3 separate regions of the Homo sapiens genome follow, and regions 1 and 2 are each linked to region 3. Evidence: promoter capture Hi-C in 16 types of primary human blood cells and fetal thymus (Javierre and others, 2016). All regions are on one chromosome and are shown on one strand. The core of a region is centred on a gene start or on the middle of the fragment in contact, and the rest is flanking DNA. Distances in the headings are between cores, read along the strand shown. Region 1 overlaps MED24 (mediator complex subunit 24). Region 2 holds the start of CSF3 (colony stimulating factor 3). Region 3 holds the start of MSL1 (MSL complex subunit 1).

Region 1 (2,898 bases), core at 116-2,615, 89 kb after region 3:
ATGTTACTCATCGCTTGGAAGCAGATGACTCTTGTATTTGAATGTTACCTAAAATGCCCCTTTTAACACAGTGCCTGTCTGCTGTTGGGCCTGTTGTACCATATGCCTCTTGACTCAAGTTCAGATGTTAAGTTTGGGTACTTTCCAGAGCCTGAGAACAGACAGATCACCTGGCGGGAGGGAAGATGCCAGTATTTCCAGCAATGGGGTCCTAAGGCCATAGTCTTGCTCCTTGAAGCCCAAGTGGCTTGGGACCACCTACAGGTCTCTTGTTCTCCAGGAACAAGAATGCTAGAATGGGCTACTCTCGAGGCTTCAGGACCTGGTTGGAGAGCTTGTTTTAGGACTAGTATATTTATTTCTTCCCCAAGTATGTTTTACTGCCTGTGAAAAGTCCAAAAAGACAATCTTTATATAAAAATGGACTGTGTTGACAGCCTCTTCCCTACCTTGGGCCCTTGATAAATGTTTATTGGCTGAAAATCGGATGAATACTGAATTTTAATGGATCTCAGGTCTTGTCTTTTTTTCCCCCTTTTATGCTCCATGGAGGTTAATGGGCTAGTTGGTGCCATTATTCATCATTTGACCCTCTGGAATTGTAACTAGGATAAGTAACTTATAGTTCAGTGCTAACCAATATGGCTTAGACCATGAGTGTGGGCATTAAGGAGAGAACAGTGAGTTAGACCAGTCGGGTGAGTTGCTAAAGGAACTGGGGCTTGAACAGAAGCTTAGAGCATGGTGGGAGTTTGAGAGAGAGTGTGTAAGAGGCCTTCAGCAGGGGAGGGCAGCAAACGCAATGCCTAGATGAGGGAGTGGTTGAGAATGAGAAAGCCATTTAGGGACCCAGTTCCCCCAGAGGAGAGTGACAGCCTCTGCAAGACTGGACTTTGGGATCCGCTCACTCCTCGAGTGATTTGTGGCCGCCCTCCCTGTTCCAGCCACTGGATTCTGGCCTCCCTCTGCCTCTCTCTCCTGAGCCTGTGTGATGCCATACCTTCTGAAGTCAGCTGGCTGTGTCCCCTGGAAATCAGGCTTTTGGGAATGGTCTCTGGGGTTTCCAGCTCTAGGTGCCCACCCCCCTTCTGGAAACAGTGCATGCTGCCCTCAGGCCCCTCCCTCCCTGTTGTCCTCAGGGGAAGCCTTCCTGTGTGGTTTCGTGTGCCGGAGGGAGTGCCAAAATCGAGGAGTTCAGGGCCAGGTGCTCCTTCTCTCCTGTTTCCCATCATGTTTCTGTACTTCCTTCCCTCTGCCAGCTTCTTGGACTGCCATCGAGCATTCTCTCTTGAAACTTGGAGAGATCCTGGCCAATCTCAGCAACCCGCAGCTCCGGAGTCAGGCCGAGCAGTGTGGCACCCTCATTAGGAGGTACCGGCTCCCTGGGGGATGGTGGAGAAGGGAGAGGGAGGACACGCCCTGGGGTAGGAAGATGTGGCACCCGTGCCATCCTCTCCGCCTTCACCTTTGGCCCCCCAAACACCGTCCCCTGTGTTTGTGACCCCTCAGCATCCCCACGATGCTGTCTGTGCATGCGGAGCAGATGCACAAGACCGGCTTCCCCACTGTCCACGCCGTGATCCTGCTCGAGGGCACCATGAACCTGACAGGCGAGACGCAGTCCCTGGTGGAGCAGCTGACGATGGTGAAGCGCATGCAGGTGGGAGGGGCCGAGTGGCTCTCCCTTCTCCAAGGCAGGCCAGCCTGTTGGGGGCAGGAGGGAGGATTCTTCTGGTTCTCCCTGGGAGAAGTGGGGTTTCTCCTGCTCCATGATGGAAAGTGGGTGCCAGTCGTGCACACTTCTGTCATTGGACCTTACTCCCCTGGTTCTCAGCACATAGCTGAGCAGTGACTCTGCCATGCAGTCTCTGACCCAGCCAAATCCTCAGAGTCCACAGAAGGGTGACGGGGTATGGGCACCCTCTTAGGCCTCATCCTTGGCTCTTCCCACAGCATATCCCCACCCCACTTTTTGTCCTGGAGATCTGGAAAGCTTGCTTCGTGGGGCTCATTGAGTCTCCCGAGGGTACGGAGGAGCTCAAGTGGACAGCTTTCACTTTCCTCAAGGTACTGGGGACGTGGGAGGGGCAGAGCCAGTCTAGGAATGGTTCTTAGCAAGACCAGTGGCACCCTGGACCTTTGCCCTGTGTTCCTCCCTGCGGGCACTGGGCCCAGCCTGCCAGGTATTCCAGTGCAAGTTCCCATTGATCATTTTCTCTGAAAGTGCCAGGGCTATATTTAGCCCATTTGGCAGACTCCGTTGTTTCTTACCACAGAGGTGCAGTTTAGCTTGGTCATCAGACAGATAGGTGCAGGGCAGTAAAGGGAGCCAGGGAAAGGGGCCCCAGTCCTCCTTGAAGCTGGGGATCCACTTTTGCTTATGGCATCTTTTTCTGTTGAGCTAGCGGAGGTGCAGGGTGCTTGTGTCCTGTGCCTAGGCCTGGGGGCATCAGGGGCCTGGGCACCTATTGGCTTTCTCATTTAGCACTAAGTGTGCTCTCACTCCCAGGGTAGGAGTGTTCCTGTCTCTCTTCCTGGAGCAGGGGTTCGGGGGGATGCCTTCAGGGGTAGATGAAAGAGAAAAGAAATGGATCTTCCTGTTTTTCCCCCTGCCTCACCCCCTAGATTCCACAGGTTTTGGTGAAGTTGAAGAAGTACTCTCATGGAGACAAGGTGAGTTGGGGATTGAGATGGAGGCATGGGAGCAGAAATAAGGGCAAAGGGGAGGGTCCTTCAGGCCCCAGCTGGGCAGTGTTCTCATGCCTGGAAGAGAGCCGGATGTGAGTGTACACCTCAGCGTGCACGTGCTTCACAATGTGCATGCTTCAGCATGTGCGTGTGCTTCAGCATGTGCGTGTGCTTCAGTGTGTGCGTGCTTCAGTGTGTGTGTTTCAGCGT
Region 2 (2,934 bases), core at 172-2,671, 110 kb after region 3:
AGAGGCGAAGGCCGGCATGGCACCCTGGGTGGGCTGCAGGGCAGGGGCCATTCCCAGTTCTTCCATCTGTGGGGGAAAGCTGTGATCAGTGGTTGGGCCCTTCTGAGTGGGCGTTATTACAAATGAGGAAATGCTGGGGGTGACAGCATGGACAGGGCCCATACACAGGCCTGGCTGTGGTGCCCAGAATGCCAGCACGACCTTGGCCACCCTGCCCAACAAGGCTCACCTGCTGCCAGATGGTGGTGGCAAAGTCGGCGACGTCCAGCTGCAGTGTGTCCAAGGTGGGACCCAACTCGGGGGAGATCCCTTCCAGGGCCTGCAGGAGCCCCTGGTAGAGGAAAAGGCCGCTATGGAGTTGGCTCAAGCAGCCTGCCTGTGAGACAGAGCGGAAGAGTTAGGGGGTGCTGCCTGAGATACGTCAGGCCCCCAGCTTGGAACCTGGAGACATGGGGGAGCCCATGGGTGTTCCTCCTCTCCTTCCCCCTCCTCATTAGCCTTATCCTTTCCTGACACTCACCAGCTGCAGGGCCTGGCTGGGGCAGCTGCTCAGGGGAGCCCAGGGGATGCCCAGAGAGTGTCCGAGCAGCACCAGCTCCTCGGGGTGGCACAGCTTGTAGGTGGCACACTGGGGATGGAAGGATGCTGAGTGAGACTCGCCATGGCCGGGTCGCCGCTCCTTCCCGGGTCCTCCCCGACTCTCTGGTCTTTCCCCTCCCTCCATGTCCTGCCAGGCTGTTCAGTTCCTCTCTGCCCTGCACCCCCACTCTCTGATCTCACAGGGGCCCTTGCCCTTTCTCCTGAATGTAATGCCTCCACTCCCATCCCAGCCAGCCCTCCCGAGCACTGTCCCCACCAAGGTCCTCCTCCCCAAGTCCCTTCCCAGCCTTCCCCAGCTCCACTGCTCCTAATATTCTCCCACGTCCCTTCCAGAGGATGTTGGCCCTGCAGTTCCATCCCCCTTAGCTCTCCCCACCGGGCTTCCCTCCACAGCCCTCTCACCCACCTCACTCACCAGCTTCTCCTGGAGCGCTGCGCCATCGCCCTGGATCTTCCTCACTTGCTCTAAGCACTTGAGCAGGAAGCTCTGGGGCAGGGAGCTGGCAGGGCCCAGGGGGGTGGCTTCCTGCACTGTCCAGAGTGCACTGTGCCACAGCAGCAGCTGCAGGGCTGGGGACAGAGCGGGCTCAGGAGACATGCTGTTCCCTACCACCTGAGGCCCTCTCGGGGACACTGGGTGCCTTTAATCCCCATTCCCAGAACGGGGATCCCCAGCCCCTCTGTCACACCAGCCTCCCTCCCATGCCAGGGCAGGCGGCTCTCCCATCCTGGGCCAAGACACTCACCCATCAGCTTCATGGGGCTCTGGGTGGCAGGTCCAGCCATGGGTCTGGGTGGGGCTGGGCTGCAGGCTCCGGGCTGTTTTGGGGCCCAGCTCTAGGGGGGCCTTTATACATAACCCCATGGAGGCCTGGGAGGAAATTACCTGGGGCCACGACTAAGGCTTAGTAATAACTTCCCAGGATTTATGCAAATTTGGTGTCCAAGACAATGCAGGGGGGTTGGAACAAAAAGCTGTTTGCGAAAGTTTTGTGAAATTGTGGAATCTCTGATCCTCCTTTGACGTCGCCTTGCCCCCCTCAAACTCCCTTCCTCCCGCTGCCCCACCCAGGCCTGAATGGCCCCAGAGTGTTTGAACAGAACAGCTGAACAAAGGCTGAGCCGCTGATAGACGCCTGGAAGCGGCAGCAGCCTGTGGGGAAGTGGCAGCTGAGTCGGGGTCTCCCTCTCTGCTCTGGCAGACTTGCGGGGGCAGTGTCCTTTGCCCCTCTCCTTTGGGATTCTCAAGCCTGTCCCCCAAGCCCCCAAATTCTAAGAGAGAAAAAAAGAAGCTGGTTGCTCCCATTCCTACCCCCAAACTCTCCGGAGGCTGCCTGTCTGGGAGACCTCCTGAGCCCCTACCTGAGATAAGGACATTGGGTCTTGGCTGCTGTGCCCACCCCACACTTGGATAGGCACCATCGAAAGTTCCAGGCTGTCCTGTCCCAAGTTGATTAGCTGGGAACTCCCCCAGAAACCCCCCCGCCCCCCATGACTCATTCGGCTAAAGCCCCTAGAATCCCGGTAGAGCCAGAGGAAACCGGATGTCTGTCCCGAATGAGGCAAGACCCTTCGAGGCGATTGGCTCACCTGACCTTCACCTCCTCGTGCACGACCCTGACAGTAGGGTCCCCAAGGGCTTTGGAACTGCGGGATTGGGACACGTGACTTCCCTGGTCATTCACCTTGAAGTGGACACGGGCTGGGGTGAGAGAGGGGAAACTGCCCCATCTTCTCATCTTAGAACCATGCAGCGTTAATGCTGGAAGGGACCTTGGAGTCGATTCCAACCCCGTGAACTGGGCCAGGGAAGGAAGTGCCTTGCCCAAGGTCATGGTAAGTGACAGAATTACAGCCTGGGCCTCTGGCTCAGACCTGAACGTTTTCTTTTTCTTTTCCAGATGGAGTCTTGCTCTGTCGCCCAGGCTGGAGTGCAGTGGCGCGATCTCGGCTCACTGCAAACTCTGCCTCTCGGGTTCACGCCATTCTCCTGCCTCAGCCTCCCGAGTAGCTGGAACTACAGGTGCCCGCCACCATGCCCGGCCAATTTTTTGTATTTTTAGTAGAGACGGGGTTTCACCGTGTTAGCCAGGATGGTCACGATCTCCTGACCTCGTGATCCACCCGCCTCGGCCTCCCAAAGTGCTGGGATTACAGGCGTGAGCCACCGTGCCCGGCCTAGGCCTGAACGTTTTCTACAGGCCACAAGGCCTGCCTGGGGCAGTCTGACTGACCACACCCAAGACTGTCACCTTCTGTCCTAATTTACCCCAGCGTGCCAAGAAACAGACATCTCTGGATGAGAAGTGGATGTGGTGACTGGATGGGGCCATC
Region 3 (2,875 bases), core at 286-2,785:
CCTTTGCCGGTGGCCAACCTCCTTTACCCCTAACCCGGGGGTGCCTTAACCTCCTACAGCCCCCTTCCCCCGAGCATGCGCACAACTCGCTCCTCGGCCCGAATGCAGATTAACCCCTCCCGTACCGTGTCTCTCTCTGACTTCAGCTCCTCGATCTCCTTTTCCTTGGCCTGCAGCTGCTGCTGCTGCTGTTCGATGAGGTCCAATTGCAGCAGAAGGATCTGTTTGAGGCAGGCGGCCTGACTGGAGGCTCCCGAGCCGCCACCACCCCCGAGAGGGCTCTTCCTCATACTCTTCCATCTGCCCTCGCTGGCCGCCAGGGTCCCGGCGGTGGCGGTGGGCGCGAGGGGTGGCGGCCCGGGCAGAGGTAGTGGTGGGGGTCCCGCCGGGTCCGAGGCGGTGGCAGCGGGGGAGGCCGCCCCACCCTTGTCCCCAGCCCAGGGCGTAGGCTCTTTGGCCGCCGCCACGAGAGAGCCCGTCTGAATGGGCAGCACCGCCTGATACTTGGGCCGGGGGCTGCAGCCGGCTCCGGCTGCGGCAGGCTCCCCCCCAATGCCGGCTTGCTTGGTGGCCGGGGGCGGACAGGGCAAGGGCACCGAACCGCCCCAGCTCTCTTCCTGCTGCCCGGGGGCCGCCCCGGCCGGGAGTAACAAGCCCCGGCCCTTGCCGCCGCAGCCGGCCGGGGAAGGCGCGGGGCTCCCGCCCTGGGAGGAGGCCAGCGGGGGCCCCGGCTCCTTGAGCTTACGGTGCCGGGGGAGGAAGTGGGCTTCGGCCGCCCCAGGCTCGTCCTCGGGCCCGCCCAGCGCCGCAGCCCGCTCGTAGTCCAGTCGCTGCTCAGGATTGCCGCCGGCAGGGGCCGCGGCCGCCTTGAACACCGCGGATCTCATGGTCATAGTGGTCCGGAGCAGCGCCGGGCACCGAGGCGGAGGAGGGGGTGGGGAAGGGGCGAGGTGCGGGGGGTCGAGGACTGAGGGGGGGGAGGGGAGTTTGGCGGGCTCGCCTCAGCAGCGCGGCAGCAGGCCTCCGCTAGCGCGGCTCCTCCGGGGCCCGGGCGCCATCCCGCCGGCGTGCGGAGACGTGGAGGCCGCGGCTGAGGCCCGCCGCCGGCCCATGGGGGCCTCGCCGCCGCCTCTGCTGCCGCCGCCGCCGCCTTCGCCTCAGAGGCAGGAGCTCGCACCCAGCCGCCCCCGAGCTCATCCCCGGAGCTCGCTTCGGCCCCCCCTGGCCCGGCCGGGCCCGCCTCGTCTCCCCACCCCGCACCCCCCCTTCCCCGCCCCGGCCCCCCGCCCCGGAGCTCGCCTCAACCGCCCCGAGCCTCCATTTCCCCCCCCTCCTCCTCAGGAGGGGGTGGAGGGCTGGGTCCGCCCAAAGCCCTCCTACTCCGGGAGAGGGGGTCTGTCGCCTCTCCCGGGGGTCTCCGCGGCTCGGGGTCCCCCTCCCCCACAGTCACCCCCGGCGCCTCAGCGTTTCCCTTTAAAAAAACGGAGCCGCTCGTAGCCGCCACCGCCGCAGCCGCCGCCAACCGGAGGACGCATGCGCGGGGAGGGGAGCGGGCGGGAGTGCACCGGGAGCCGAGAGGAGGGAGGCGGGCCGCGCTATTGTGAAAGGGGCCGCCGCCGCCTCGAGGGGGGCAGGGAGGGGACCGCGGGGGCCGGGGGCCGGCGAGGGGAGGCCGGGGCTGAGGGGCGAGGACCGAGGAGCGCGCGGAGGAGCGGGGTGAAGGTGGGCTGCCGAGGGAGGGGCGAGCCGGGGGAGGGTCTGGAGGGGGAAGAAGGGCGAGGGCGGCCGCGGGAAGAAGGGGAAAGCGGAGGCTCCCCGGGAAAAAAGCGCGAGAGAATGGAGTTGAGAGGAAAGAAGGAGGATACAGGCGGCCAATGTGTGGCCTACGTGGGAGCGCCCCGAGCGCTCCACGTCCCCGGCCTGCGCCGGGCGGCCCCTTCCCCGGGCATCTTGGCAACGCGCCTGGCCCAAGCCGGAGGGGCCCCGCGGCCCCGCACGCCTCCTGGACCAGTCAGGATCCAGGCTCCTCTTTGAGCCCGCGGGTGTTTCATGGGGGTAGAAGTCTAACCCCTCCACCCCCTCTCCTCCCCAGCAGTCCCACGCGGGTATGGGAGAGAATGAAGTTCTTTGTCTCTAAGGGATTCAAACCAGAAACGGAGGGACCTCTGGTTCCCAGAGGGAGGAAAATCCATGATGTCTGCTGCCCAGGGAGCTATTGCCACCGCCTCCTTGGGATGAAGTATTGCCAGCTACCAACAGTTCCTTCCCAACGGCCATCTTCCAGCCTTCTTAAACGACTCCTAGCATCTTCGGGAGGCTCCTGAAGGACTGAAGCAAAGGAAATCTCTGAAGGGATTTAGTCCTTGAAAGGGAGTAGGGATACTTAGGGTGTTCTGTGTTGAGCGCTTCTTCCTATCTCTCCAGCTTCATGTATGTGTGTCTTTATGTCCAAGCAATTGAGCCAACAAGTCCTCAGAATTCCTTGTGAAAAAAACGTTTTTTTTTTTTGAGACGGATTCTCACTCTGTCGCCCAGGCTGGAGTGCAATGGTGAAATTCAGCTCACTGCAACCTCCGCCTCCGGGGTTCAAGCGATTCTCCTGCCTCAGCCTCCCGAGTAGCTGGGATTACAGTCACGCGCCACCACGCCCAGCTAATTTTGTATTTTTAGTAGAGACAGGATTTCTCCTTGGTCAGGCTGGTCTGGAACTCCCGACTTCAGGTGATCCGCCCGCCTCGGCCTCCCAAAGTGGTGGGATTACAGGTGTGAGCCACCGTGCCCAGCCCTGAAATAGTCTTAATTGCTTGTTTTTCTTTTTTGTCTGAGGTGTGCTTTTTAAAATCTCTATGGAGATGGAGAAGACTGACATTCTCTG

The links. The method cuts DNA at HindIII sites, captures the fragments that hold promoters and counts their contacts. A CHiCAGO score of 5 or more calls a contact.
Region 1: a fragment that was not itself captured here is called in contact with the fragment with the promoter of MSL1 in region 3 in 10 of 17 cell types (endothelial precursors, erythroblasts, M0 macrophages and 7 more); the score reaches 9.4 in endothelial precursors.
Region 2: the fragment with the promoter of CSF3 here is called in contact with the fragment with the promoter of MSL1 in region 3 in 4 of 17 cell types (erythroblasts, M2 macrophages, endothelial precursors and 1 more); the score reaches 6.7 in erythroblasts.

The regions. Positions count from the first base shown.
Region 1 is chr17:40,031,818-40,034,715 of GRCh38, reverse strand. MED24 (mediator complex subunit 24) reads left to right here. Exons shown (of 26, transcript NM_014815.4): 7 at 1,260-1,371; 8 at 1,510-1,660; 9 at 1,954-2,067; 10 at 2,626-2,673. Among named protein-coding and RNA genes, the nearest start is that of SNORD124, 5.6 kb to the right of the region's middle. The HindIII fragment of the contact is 1,260 bases long and covers 736-1,995 here.
Region 2 is chr17:40,013,927-40,016,860 of GRCh38, reverse strand. It overlaps CSF3 (colony stimulating factor 3), which reads right to left and starts at 1,421. Exons shown (of 5, transcript NM_172219.3): 1 at 1,347-1,421; 2 at 1,016-1,170; 3 at 521-628; 4 at 230-376; 5 at 1-66. The coding sequence starts at 1,386. PSMD3-AS1 (PSMD3 antisense RNA 1) reads left to right here and starts at 2,220. Exons shown (of 3, transcript NR_198981.1): 1 at 2,220-2,307; 2 at 2,502-2,623. RefSeq lists an enhancer at 1,012-1,511. The HindIII fragment of the contact is 16,036 bases long and covers 1-2,934 here.
Region 3 is chr17:40,120,631-40,123,505 of GRCh38, reverse strand. MSL1 (MSL complex subunit 1) reads right to left here and starts at 1,535. Exons shown (of 9, transcript NM_001365919.1): 1 at 126-1,535. The coding sequence starts at 893. LOC124904001 (a long non-coding RNA gene) reads left to right here and starts at 1,666. Exons shown (of 2, transcript XR_007065752.1): 1 at 1,666-1,722; 2 at 2,093-2,875. RefSeq lists an enhancer at 56-694 and silencers at 395-844, 895-944, 1,045-1,184, 1,245-1,454, 1,495-1,694 and 1 more. The HindIII fragment of the contact is 11,445 bases long and covers 1-2,875 here.